Linked DNA regions of Homo sapiens: region 1 is linked to region 2. Evidence: promoter capture Hi-C in 16 types of primary human blood cells and fetal thymus (Javierre and others, 2016). All regions are on one chromosome and are shown on one strand. Each heading gives the region's core, a stretch centred on a gene start or on the middle of the fragment in contact. The rest is flanking DNA. Distances are from core to core; before and after follow the strand shown.

The links. Contacts are between HindIII fragments. The CHiCAGO score rates a contact against its expected background, and 5 or more counts as called.
Region 1: a contact is called between a fragment that was not itself captured here and the fragment with the promoter of UFL1-AS1 in region 2, in 1 of 17 cell types (endothelial precursors). The highest score is 8.6, in endothelial precursors.

The regions. Positions count from the first base shown.
Region 1 is chr6:95,430,865-95,437,907 of GRCh38, reverse strand. No RefSeq gene overlaps it. Among named protein-coding and RNA genes, the nearest start is that of MANEA-DT, 140 kb to the left of the region's middle. The HindIII fragment of the contact is 2,095 bases long and covers 589-2,683 here.
Region 2 is chr6:96,518,528-96,525,855 of GRCh38, reverse strand. UFL1-AS1 (UFL1 antisense RNA 1) reads left to right here and starts at 4,142. Exons shown (of 4, transcript XR_007059687.1): 1 at 4,142-7,328. It overlaps UFL1 (UFM1 specific ligase 1), which reads right to left and starts at 4,050. Exons shown (of 19, transcript NM_015323.5): 1 at 3,906-4,050; 2 at 2,565-2,710; 3 at 1,446-1,474; 4 at 462-559. The coding sequence starts at 3,982. RefSeq lists enhancers at 2,718-3,589, 4,256-4,445, 3,590-4,461, 4,462-5,333, 5,334-6,207. The HindIII fragment of the contact is 5,811 bases long and covers 614-6,424 here.

The DNA.
Region 1 (7,043 bases), core at 387-2,886, 1.1 Mb after region 2:
TAAATTTATAAATTATTAAGTGATGCAACGTTTCTAGATATTCAAAATTAAATATGTTATACTGTATGTTTAATTACACTTATATATAAAGTTCAAATAAAATAAAACAGGATATAATTCTCTAGAATATTCAGCATTTTTAAACCTTTTCTTTGTACCATTATCTAATATCTTTGCATAGGTAAATCCTATAAATTCCATCTCAGAATAATATTTTAATACATTAAACATATAATTACAATGAAAAGTAATAATAACAAATATATTACTAAAACATAGCCTTTGAAGGAATGATGTAATGGCTCTAGATTAAGAATCTAGAAAATATATATTTCATTAAAATGATTATTTTCGCCTGAATATAAACTTCTTTAAAAGTTTTTAATCACGGATTAATGGTATACAGAACTGTTGATTTCTATATGTTCATCTTGTATGTGGTCACTTAATTATCTTCTTAGTTATAATAGTATTTCTGTTAACTCTCTTTTCTAGATACACAATACAGTAATAACATCTGCAAAAAAACTTGTTTCAGTATTTAATGTTTATAAATAATATTTTTTGATTATGTAAGTAATATAAGCTTACTGCAAAAAAATGAAAAAACACAGAAAAATATGTAGAGATGTCTTGTCAATATTTAATGTACACATTTCCAGAAAGTTGGTATTGTTTCATTTTAATAAAATCCTGTTATTTCCAACAACGTTGATGAATTGGAGGATATTATGTTAAGTGAAATAAGCCAGGCACTGAAAGACATTCTCACTAATATGTGGGAGCTAAAAAAAAATATATTGAACTCCTGGAGATAAAGAATAGAATGATGTAAAATGCCAGAGGCTAGGAAGGGTAGCTTGGGGGAAGGACAAAGAGGGGATGATTAATGCGTACATACATACAGTTGGAAAGAAGAAATAAGATTGAGTGTTCTGTAGTACAATAGAACAACAACAGATAACAATAATTTATCGGACACTTAAAAATAACTAAAAGGATGGCACTGGAATGTTCCTGACACAAAGGAACATTGTGTTGAAGTGATGAATATCCCAGTTACCCTGATTTGATCATTACACATTTTTTGCTGTGTCAAAATATCAGGTGTACCCCATAAATATTTACAACTATTATGTATACGTAGTAAATACAAATTTAAAAAATAAAAATACATCTCTAACATATCCAAAGCTGGTAAAGAAAGGGAGTGAAAGCCATTTCATTTGCCTTAGGCAAAAGGATCTTTACTGCATTGCTAATATTCCCTATTGACAGCTTAGTAATAGCTATCAAAAATTTTATGACTATACCTTTGACTCAGCTATTTTACCTTTAAGATTTCTTCTGAGCAAAAACCTCATAAATTTGCACAAAAATTATCTACAACTATGTTTATGGTAATAGTTTGAATAAAATTGGCTACCGTTCACTCAGTGCTTACTATGTGCCAAGTATTATGCTAAAACTTTTATGTACATCACCTCATTTCAACCTTGTAAAAACCTCATTGCCCCTTTCTTTTTAATTTCCATTAACAGGGAAGACTATTTAGGCTTAGATCTTAGGTGAGTTAGTCAAGAATACACAAACAATAAGTGTGTAAGTTAAAGTCATCCATCTCCAGAACCTGATAAAACAACAAAAGGGAAAAGGAAAAACAACTTAAACCATTTTTTAAAGGTACATTATAGCATATTAAACAATGGATTGTTATGAAGACATCTGCAAGTGACAATGCAAAGAAAAAATTAAGACATTGTAAAAATGTTCCCTAAAAGTTTGATCATATATACTTTGTAATCTAAGTGTTGATAAAATATACAATAAAATATTAATAGGCAGAAAATAAAATTGGGTGAATACTAAATATTTTATACATTTATATTTTCTTAATTATATATTGTAATACTTTCCATTTCATTCAATGATTACTTAGTATTTTATGTATGGATAATAAAATATACTTGATATTATGTTGAACCTTTAGGCTTTCTAATATTTCTCGTGATAAACAGTGCTGTAACGAGCATCCTTAAAAGTACTATTTGATCACATTAGTCTTGTATATTATTTTTATACAAATGAATTTTAAAATGCTGTAAAACACCTCTATATAATTATCTCAGTTTGAGGCTTTCATAGATGTTTCATTATCTATTTGTATATTTTAGTACCAGAATAACATTAGTTATATTATAGCTTCTCTATGATAAATTTTAGCATGTTTGTAACACAAGATCCTCATTATTATTTTTATTTTAATATGTACTATGCTTTCTCATCAATTTATGGTTTAATAAAATATTTAGAAATAGTTTTCAAAAATTTTAATGGTGATGTTAATTGGCATGTCTACTGCATAAATGTATCATGTATTTTTATTTCACTTGTTGACATGATAATTTTCATTTATCAGTGCTTTTTAATGTCAAAGTTTCATGTTAGGTTAATTCATCAAAAGTTGACATATTTGTTGCTATCATTAAAGTGTCTAATTTTAAATTTTATCTAATTTATTTTGAAATACTGGAAAAATGCTTATTAAATTTTTAATAGTTTATTGGTTGATTCTTCTGGGTTTGTTAGGAAATGTCAAATCATCTGTTAATATTAATGATGTTTTGTTCCAAGTCTTTTCTTGACTAGCACATAAAAAACACCGCTAAATGATGCAAAAGCTTTGGCTGTCTTGTTCTTGACTAAAATGGAAATGTATTTGATGTTTGAGCTGATGCAATTTGTTGCCTTTAATTTACTATAGAATTTTAACATATTTTATTATGTTAATAGATTTCTAAATATTAAACCGTTTTGCATTTCTAGATAAAAATGCTACTTTTCTTCAGTGTATTTAATATATTGCTAAACTCCACTTGCCAATGTTTTTTGAATAACATTTTCATCATTTGTTTGTATTCAGATTTCTTTTTTTTTTTTTTTTTGAGACGGAGTTTTGCTCTTGTTGCTCAGGCTGGAGTACAATGGCACGATCTCGGCTCACGGCAATCTCCGCCTCCCGAGTTCAAGCCATTCTCCAGCCTCAGCCTCCTGAGTAACCGGGATTACAGGTGCCCGCTGCCATGCCTGGCTAATTCTTCTATTTTTAGTAGATACGGGGTTTCACCATGTTGGCCAGGCTGGTCTTGAACTCCTGACCTCGTGATCCACCCGTCTTGGCCTCCCAAAGTGCTGGGATTACAGGCTTGAGCCACAGCATCCGGCCCTTTTCAGTACATTTTTTTTTTCTTTATTTTTTTGAGACGGAGTTTCTCTCTTGTTGTCCAGGCTGGAGTGCAATGGCACGATCTCAGCTCACCACAACCTCCGCCCCTCTCCCCCTACCCGGGTTCAAGCAATTCTCCTGCCTCAGCCTCCTGAGTAGCTGGGATTACGGGCGTCCACCACCACGCCCGGCTAATTTTTTGTATTTTTAGTAGAGGTGGGGTTTCACCAGGTTAGCCAGGCTGGTCTCGAACTCCAGACCTCAGGTGATCCACCCGACTCGGCCTCCCCAAGTGCTGGTATTACAGGCGTGAGCCACCGTGCCCAGCCCTTTCAATACATTCTTTATCCATTCTCCTTTTTGTCTTTGTTATTAGATACGTTTCAGCTTCATAAAAGCAGCTCATTCATTAAGGAATGTTGTACATATTAAAAAACACGAGAAGGCTAGAAGCGGTGGCTCACGCCTGTAATCCCAACACTTTGGGAGGCCAAGGCCAGTGGATCACGAGGTTAGAAGATAGAGACCATCCTGGCCAACATGGTGAAACCTCGTCTCTACTAAAAATACAAAAAAAATTAATTGGGCATGGTGGCAGGTGACTGTAGTCCCAGCTACCCGGGAGGCTAAGGCAGGAGAATCGCTTGAACCCTGGAGACTGAGGTTGCAGTGACTGAGATCGCACCACTGCACTACAGCCTGGCGACAGAGCAAGTCTCTGTCAAAAAAAAAAAACAAAAACAAAATACAAAAAGAAACATCAGAAATATAATGGATATAATGGACCCCATGTTGGATTGTTGGATTGGCCAGAAGGGCAGACGTATAGAAACCAGGGTAGGTCAGCTGTGGAAGAAGGAAGGGGTAGTAGGAGGACATGAATTGTTGTAGAATCAGTTCTGGGAGTAAGATGGACTGAAACTAGCAACTTAGATGATTACCATAGATAAGAGTTATAGGTGTAGCTAGATAAAATAGAGAGGAATATTGAGAGGCAGAAAGGCATAGACAGCCGCTATTAAACTGTGTTAAACCAGAAGTGGATTTGAAGAGTGCAAATCACTCAGAAGAGTCTCAAAACGAATACCATATATAACGGGTTTTGAACAGCCCTTGACAATGTCTAAAACCAATTTTGTTGAGGTTATAATTGACATACAAAAACTTGTATATATTTAATATATACAGCTTCTTGAGTTTGGAGATACATATACACCTGTGAAACCATCACTGCAATCTATGCCATGAACCTATCCATCTCTTCCAGAAGTTTTCTTCTATCATCTTTGTTAATTATGATGATGAAGTGATGATGATGATGATGATAAAGAACACTTAACATAAGGTATATCCTCTTAACAAATGTTTGGGTTTTTATTACAGTATTGTTTATTATAGACATTATGCTGTGCAGTAGATATCTAGGACTTACCTTGTGAAATTAAAACTTATAACCCTTGGCAAATACCTTCCCATTTCCCCCTGCCCCCAGCCCCTGGAAACCACCGTTCTAATATTTGCTTCTATGAATTTGACTATTGCAGATTCCTCATATAAATGGGATCACGCAATATTTGTCCTTTGGTGTTTGGTTTATTTCACCTAGCATTTTATTCTCCATGTTCATCTATGTTGTGGCAAATGGCAGTATTTCCTTCCTTTTTTAATGTTCAATGGTTCCTTCCTTTTTAAATATTCAATTGTGTGTATATATCATGTTTTCTGTATCCATTCATTCATCCATCCATGAACATTTAGGCTACTTCTACTTTTTGAATATTATAAATAGTGGTGCAGTGATTGGGAGGGCAGGTATCTCTTTGGGATACTGATTTCAATTCCTTTGGGTGTATACCTAGAAGTGCGATTGCTGGATCATATGGTAATTCTGTTTTTAAATTTCTGTGGAACCTAAGATAACAAGTGCTGGCAAGAATGTGGAGAAAAGGGAAACAAGGGAAACCTTGTACACTGCTGGTGAGAAAGTAAGGTGGTGTAGCCAATATAGAGAACACTCATGCTTAGTAAGCACTAAGTGGTTCGTAAACTCTATTTCTCTCCCTCGCCATATATATATATATATATATATATATATATATATATATATATATATATATATATATATATAAAATATCTTTAAATAAAATAGTAAATAATATTATTTATTATTATAGGGAATAGACTTTCCTCTGAAAGAAATTATTTCTGAATTTGATTAGGGCTCCTTAATTATATCTTAGAGTACAGCAAAGGGCTTTTATATGTTTGAAGACACTTGATTCAATGACATGCTAAGATTTGTCTATGTTATTTATAATGGGTGATACTTTTATTTCCAAAATTTGTTATCAAGTAAAGAACAATTACACAAATATACATCATTGAAAAGCAAATACATTTTGAAAAGTTTTAAACACCCAAGAAAAATTTTAAACAACTTTTTTTCTCCCCATTATTTGATAATATTTTTGATTTAGTATTTTCTACAATTTCTTTATATTGATTACCAAATTTGTTTGCTGATAAGAAGTGACAGGTGTTGTTTAAATCAGGTGCAAAATGTTTAAAGTTTCACATTTATGAAAAAAACATTCAGTTGGGAAAAAGATAAAAACAGAACACATTTACAATATAGAAATATTTGTCGGGTCCTGTTGTGATTTTTTAAAGTCCAATTATGAGGGCACTATGTTGTGTTAACCATTTTAGTATAAGTTAGTTGTATCTAGATGTTTAACCCTCCCTTTCCCCATCTGACACAAACTGTGATGATCACATTATATAGAACAGTCTGTGTTACCACTTCACTACAGGTAGAATTTTATTTAGGATATGATTTTAATTTTCCTGTAGAGTGCTGCCCCACTGTGGACAGATTAGGAATCACTGAAGCCTGACAAGTAATTACTTTTTGCAAATACTGTCTTTATTAAATCTCCCGTACAAATATTCCTTACATGTAATACCTGCATAAAGAAATATCCACCCAATGGTTACAAAAAATGTTGTAAAATTTGATATCTTCTCAGAGAACTACTTAAATATAAATAGGCCTTTTCTGAGTTACAAAATCTAAAAACTTTGCTTCATAAAATGTTTCTAAGGCATCAAACTGGAGTAGTAGAAAGACAAATTAACTTTTAAAGTCATAATCTCTTCTCAAGCCATTAAGCACATTTAATCTGTGCCACTACAAATTTTGGATATTGCCTATTGTTATCACAAACTAATATTTTCACATTCAGTTTTGTTTTTACATTATCTTGATTGATTTTAAGGCAGCCAGTATTGAACCTAAATAGTGAAGATGATGAATTTAGTTAAATTATTATGGCTGATTTCATCAGAGTTCATTGTGTAAAAATTTGACACTAGTGATAGAAATTATGATAATTGAATAAATTACAATGAGGTCATTAATTCATTTTATTTTTAATACATCTATGTGTTTATTCATAGCATCAACATAATTTTCCTCAGATTATAAAAGCATGTGCAACTAGTCTGTCTAAATCACCTCTTCTTTGAAAGTTAAAGCCATATTATAGAATTGTGACTTTTAGTCTTCACAATCTATTCTTCATCCAACATAGCTCTGCAACCTTTAGTTATAGATGTAAAAATTATTTTCCTCTTCACTCACCTTTTATTATTATTATTATTATCTATATTTGTAGGTCACAAAGATCTTATATAGTGTGGCATAGTGAAGGTAAGTTTGGGCAGAAAGTTAGAAAACTAGAACTTGGTCCTATGTGTGCCACCAATTAGGTGTGCATGCTCTTGAATTTCATTTAAAAGTGTGTTGTAATCTTCA
Region 2 (7,328 bases), core at 2,893-5,392:
AATTTGTATTTGATTTTCATTAACATTTTTGGAACAAATTTGCTTTCAGAGTTAAGATTATACGGGAAGGAACGTAAAAGTTACGTTTTACGTTTTCTTATTAAGAAAAAAATAGAAGTTTATATTATTTCTAAGTATTCCATACATTAACACTGAATTTTTTTTTTTTTTTTTTTAATTTGAGACAGGATCTTTGCTATGTTACGTAGGCTGGTCTCAAATTCCTGGTCAAGCAATCCTCCAGCCTCAGCCTTCTGAGTAGCTGGGATTACAGGTACATGCCACCATATGTGGCTTAAACACTTACTTTTTAAGTGAAATAAACCTTATCATGAAAATCAACACTGTAAGAGTTATAAATGAAATGTCTAACTGGCCATAATTGGCCTAAATTTAAACACTATAAAAAAAAGAAAGAAAATAAACAAAGTGCTCTTAAATTTGTACTTTATTGTACTTACTCATCTATCAGTTGTCCCAACACTAACTGAACATGCTTTTCTGATTTAATAATGTCACCAATTCTATTTTCAATATGAATCAGGTCCACATTAATTACCTGGAAAACAAATACAAAATCTATTAATGATTAGTTTGTATTGTTTCTTAAGCTTGAAATTATATACTTAGAACTATATTTTTAAAGAAATTGCCGGCCAGGCATGGTGGCTCATGCCTGGATTCCAGCACTTTGGGAGGATGAGGCGGGAGGATCCCTTCAGTTCAAGAGTTTGAGACCAGCCTGGGCAACATAGGGAGACTCCCATCTCAAAAAAAAAAAAAGAAAGAAAGAAATTGCTTATTCTTAAATTTTGAATCAATCTGAAATAATACGAAAAGCATTGGCCAAATAAAAAATTAGAGGTGTATTGCTTAGTTATTTTCAGTTCTGAAGAATTAAACTGTCACTTGCTAGTAAGTTTATATAAAGCAGTAAATTACATATTCATATAACAGATAGCATTTTACAGAAAATTCGCTGGCTTCTTGTTTATAGTGTACCTTGGTAATGACATATATATTTGTATATTTTGAAAATAGCTTCTACTTTTAAAAATGTTTCTCTATTACTTTCATATACTAAAAACATATAAACATGAAACTGGTGACTTTTCTCCCAAAATGACATAAACTCTATACTTACATAAAATAACTATGAGTTCATTTGGTAAAAAGTTAAGAATAAGAAAGCCAACTAGGGAAGAGTTGGCCAACTCTTTAATAAGGCCAACTTATTAAATCATTTCAATAAATCCGAATTTATTAAATCATTTTAATGTATCAGAACTTGTTAAATCAATTCAGTGTATCAGCGAGGCTTATATAACTATTTCTTTATAAACACTACACAAAATATGATACCAGCATTAGTGAATACTTGAACAAATTCACAGTATCAAAAAATTGAGAAAGTAAAGCAAAAATTTTATAAATTTAAAACCTACCTGTTGTAGATCAACAATGTTTACTCGACCTTTGAAGAAAAGACATTCATTTATTTTAAATGATCTATGCGTACATACCAACCCAAAGCTATAAATTCTAACATTTAAGTTTTGGTCAAAGTCCTGCATAGAACAGAGAGCCAGAATAATCAATGTCTTCAAATACACACCATTAGCTGATGGCTAAGTCTTCATGGCTGAAGCCATAAGCAATAACTTACTTTCAATTTTTTTTTTTTTTTTAAATAACATCAGGCCAATTATGAGCACCAACTGGCACACAAATTGGCTCTATCTATGAAGGGTATTCATTTCCCTTCACAATTCAGAATTTATCTACTGTGATCAAAGAGATATTGACAACTAAATTAAGATGAACTTTTTTTCAATTATTTGATACTAAAAGGTAGGCTTCTACATATCAGCATAAGAAAATCTGTTAAGTAATTCAAATTATAGCTCATATTTTAAAGGTACTATGAAGGAAAATAGATAAATAAAAAAAGACAAAGACCAATGTTACACTCTGATAATATGAAGAGAGGCTTTCATAATTGCTTCTATTTTAATCAAATAGTATTCAAATATGCTTGGTAGTCTGTTCAAATTTTAAGAAGACAAAGGAAACCAACTTTGTGCGTGTTTTTAACAGCATTTCATACAATATGATTGGTGTAGCACCACACTGGATTGAGTTACCTAATTTGTAAGTACAAGTAAGCCTTAAAAAGAAATACAGCCTTGATTTTCAAAAATCTATAATCCTGTAAGATACTGTCCCCCTTCACAATTACCACCTAATAAAAGGCAGCTGAATACCCTTCCCTGAGTCATGCAATAAATTAATGAATTGTAAAAAGAAACAATTAATTCATGTATAGTACACATAACTCAAAATGATAAAATATTTTAAGTGACAACATTTGAGTTCATTTAAATTATATGACCATGTTTGCATGAACCCAGTAAAAATATTAAGCCTGATTATCAAATTAACAATTGAAAACGATATCTTACAATCTATAATTTAGTATGCAATTACATGTTTACGGGTTTTGTTTGTTTGTTTTGCCCCTTCCAAAAATCCAAGAAAAAAAAAAACACTAAAGAATTACCTACCACCTCGGACATGTAGCTCATCTCTCATTTCTTTACTAATTTGGGCTGGAGTAATATATTCCTTTCCATCGAGTGTATGAACTACTTCTAGCTGTTTCTGAGCAATCAATTTATTAACAATCTCAATGCAGTTCCGCTCGGACAACCTGAGGGAAAGAAAAAAAGTTGTTTCAAAAGTCCACTTGAGACATTGGCGCTCAATAAAATTAATACAATGTATGAAAACAGGCTTTTAAAAAGTTTGTTTAGTCACTAACTTCTACATCACAATATCTGTATTTTTCACTAACTGATTCAATAAGTTAAAAAAAAACCTTTCAGAGTAAGTAGGTTTACATATGCTTAAATCATTTATTTAATTGGTACACATCATCCCATCACAAATTTCAAGTCTGTTGTCTCTTACAGGCCTGCTTCCAATCTTCAAATCTGAAGGGAAAATTGAAGACATTTATTTAGGTAGGAAAAAAGAAAAAACAAAACAAAACAAAACAAAAAATGCCCTAATTTCCAGTTTAATCAGAATTTTCTTTTAAATTAAGTGCATAATTGCCTCACTTACACACATGGTCTGCAAGCAGGCAGGGGATGTGGCCTAGTGAAACCATAACTTTTACCCACGTTAGTTACCCATGCAGTTACGAGTTTGCTATCAGTGGTAGAAAATACAGCATAAGGGGATTGCTGTCTTCCGGCTCAAAAGGAATAAAACATCGCAGGTAGGAAGTAGTCAAAGAATAGAAAGGCTTCTATTAGCGTTATTTTTAAAAAGCAGAGTTAGGCTCCTCTGGACACATCCTCCAAAGGTTAGTGGGCTTGTAGAAAATGTCAGTGCCCTGAATAACAGATGGGGTCAGGGGTCTAGCCCTAGGTCTGTTACGAGAGATAAAAGGGCAAGAAGTTTTAAGGATCAACATACTATTTGCCAAGTACTGTACTGGGGGCGGGGGTTAGCCTCTCCTTTCGAGCTCATTCTAGATCAGGAAGTGTATAATAGCCAAGATGTCACAGTGATTTGGTGGTTGGTGGGTGAGGGAGGGTCAAAGAAATGCTCAATAAAGGCAGCTCGAAATCACCGGCCCCGTCCATGGTGGGGCGGGGCGCGCCAGCATTTCGCTGCAGCTGGGCTGGGGGGCTCCAGGGCGTCCTAGGCTGAGGACTTTCCCGCCGAGCCTTGGACTTGGAACTGCGATCCAGGCTCGGGACAGAGGGAGGAGGAGAGAATGGTGACAAGCAGCGAGAAGACCCGGGATGCAGGGCCGCGGGTCTAAAGTCCCAGATACAGGCGTGTCCGCCCACGGCCTAATTTGGGCTCCACAAAGGAGAGGGAGGGTCGGGCACCTCTGCGTGGCCTCGGCGAACTGCGCCCGCTGGAAGTCGGCCGCCAACCGCCTAATCTCTTCCCAGGCGTCCGCCATCACGGCCTGACTCGCAGTAGACGCGGAGGAACTGCAGACACGTCAGCCGACAGGCGGTGGGAGAAGAGAGGCGGAACGGGCCGCGCAGAGGGACAAGAGGCTCCGCCCCCGACGCAGACACACCAAACGCTTGCGCCCGAGGCGCGGGGGGCGGGCGGAAGTGCCGTGGTTGTACCGCGGCGCTGGGGGTTCCTCCCGGCGAGACTGGCGGGGCTGCGGCGGCTAGGAGAGTGGTGCGTAGGTGTTTCTGGGGGGGTCGTGGGCAGGATGCAGGGCTCAGTAAAGTTTAGTGTCAGAACTTTGTTTGCGCTACCCCTAATATTTCCGTAGAGTAATAGTTGTATTAACTACTTTTCTTTTTTCTTCTGTCCTCCATTTGTTTTGGGGGAGGGTGCGGAGGAATAAGCCTGTGTCTAAGATTGGCGCCTCTCTTCTCTAGCTGTTAACTCTGAGCATTCCCTTTTGTATAGGGTATCGTGTTAATTTTTACATGCACCCAGAGCAGTCTGCCTTTTGGAAGATACATGGGAGACCCTACCGAAAGTAATTACTTTTTTTTTACAGAGTGAATAAATTTGCGTGTCATAAAGGCTGTATAATTGCTTTCGTGTCTAGAGTTCTAGAGTCTTTCGTATTTCTCTTATTGCAATGATTAACTTCATCAAATAATGAGGAATATAAACATAAGGTGCATGGCTATCAAGGAAACAGGGAAAGCAAAGAGAACATGTATCCTGCTTCCCTGTTGAGTAGATATTTACTCAGGTGTACCTTTCTTTTTTATATCTTTTTTATATCTTATGAATTGAAAATAAATCATGGGACCCCCAAATCACTAAGCTAAAGGGAAAAGTCATACTGGGAACTGCTTAGGGAATCCTGCCTCCCATTCTATTCAAAGTCACCCCTCTGCTCACTGAGATAAATGCATGTCTGATTGCCTCATTTGGAGAGGCTCATAAGAGAATGCAACTGTCTGTTATCTACCTATGACTTGGAACTTCCTCCCCACTTGGAGTTGCCCCGCTTTTCCAGATCAGACCAATGTTTATCTTACATATATTGATTGCTGCCCCATGTCTCCCTAAAATGTGTAAAACCAAGCTGTGCCCCAGCCACCTTGGGCGCATGTTGTCAGGATCTGTGCCATGTCATGGATGCAAGTTCTTAACTTTGGCTAAATAAACTTTCTGAGTTGATTGTGACCTGTCTCAGATATTTGGAGTTCATGTATCTCACTCTTTACTATTTAAAAAATATTATTCCAGTTAGAAAGAATGAATAATATCAAGTATTTGATAGCACAGCAGGGTGACTAGTTGTCAGAGGCGTTTGAACTAGAGCAACTCCATCTTGAATAGGGGCTGGGTAAAATAAGGCTGAAACCTACTGGGCTGCATTCCCAGGAGGTTAGTCACAGAGTGAGATAGAAGGTCCACAGGCAGGAAAAACAAGTCATAAAGACCTTGCCGATAAAACAGGTTGCAGTAGTGAAGCCAACCAAAACCCACCAGAAACCAAGATGATGAATACAGTGACCTCTGGTCGTCTTCACTGCTCATTATATGCTAATTATAATTCATTATCATGTTAAAAGACACCCCCACCAGTGCCATGACAGTGTACAGATGCCATGGCAACGTCTGGAAGTTACCTTATATGGGTCTAAAATGGGGAGGAACTCTCAGCCCTGGGAATTGCCTACACCTTTCCTTGGAAAACTTGTGAATAATCCACCCCTTGTTTAGCTGTAATCAAGAAATAACTATAGGTATCCTTAGGCCAGCAGCTCAAGCCGTTGCTCTGCCTATGGAATAGCCATTTTTTTTTTCCTTTGCTTTCTTTATAAACTTGCTTCACTTTATGGATTTGCTTTCAATTCTTTCTTGTATGAAATCCAAAAACCTTCTCTTGGGGTCTGGATTGGGACACCTTTCCGGAAGTACAGTCAATAATAATTCAATTGTACATTTTAAAAAACAAAGTACAAGTGGATTGTTTGTAACACAAAGGAAATGCTTGAGGTAATGGATACCACATTTACCCTGATGTGATAATTACATGCTGTATGCCTGCATCAAAATATTTCATGTACTCCATAAATATATACACCTACTATGTACCTACAAAAATTAAAAACTAAAAAATAAAAATATTCCTTTTAATCATATATTGATAGAGTTGGTAAAGGGGAGCTATTTCAATTTCTTTTCCATCTAAGTACATTACTGTGGGCAACTCAAATCCAATGCCATAAACGTAATTGTCTATTAAATTCCCCAGCTTTATTTAAAAGACAGGAACTCAGTCATAAAACCTTCCACTAAGTACTGCTAGAAAATGACAATGGCTACCTGATTATGGACCAAGAGGGAAAACACCAGAAGTCAAAGAGGTAGTTTGGAAGGTGGTAGGTAGTGTGGTTCCAGAGAGCATCAAGCTTCAAAACAAGCAGAAACATTCATTCCTAAAACACATATTTATTAATTCTCTATCAGATGCCATGGAGCACAGTGGTGGATAAGGAAGACATGGTCTGGCCGTAACAATTTTGAAATCTAATGAAGCAGATTAAAAAGATAAGTACTTACAATAAAAGTGTGGAAATTCTAACAATAGGGGAAGTATAGGGCAGTATGTGATCACTTGGCAGCCAAACTTCTTGCTTCCTATGTAAGACTCTCACAGTCAGACTGGAGCTGCACATCTCTGCCGCTGCACAACACATGGAGAATAGTCTGCTGTATCCTAGCCTTGCCAAGCCCTTTCAGGACCCCATGTCTTTACTGGATTGCCTGTCCACTTCCCCACGCCCCCGACCCTCATCCCCGCATATTATTTTGTAACATATTTCTTCATGGTATCCCAGCTTTAAAGTCTTCAATGAAACCTTTTAAACTCCTACAGTTATTGTATATGTTGTGTTTCCACATTTCTTTATTTAGATGCCTCTAATAGCAAGAAAAGTTATATTGTAGTTTATTAACTTATTTACTGCATCTCTCAATATCCTGAGCTCCTAAAGGAACTCCTGAAAGTTCCTCAGCACTTAGCGTGACAACTAGTACATAGTACCTGCTGTATTCTATAAATGTCCTTTATGTGAGTAAGTCAGTGTAAATGTTTTGGTGCAGCATTATACTTTGGTAAAATAGTACTATGTTAATATTACTAACATTTACATTTATTCCTAAGAAAGGAAACCATAAGAATAATTCATGGTTATATTTTCTAGAGACTAGGCTTGTTTCGTCCAGTATGGTACTCAATAGCCATATAAAGCTATTTACATTTAAATTAATTAAGATTAAATACAATTGATAATGTGGTCCTTCAGTTGCACTAG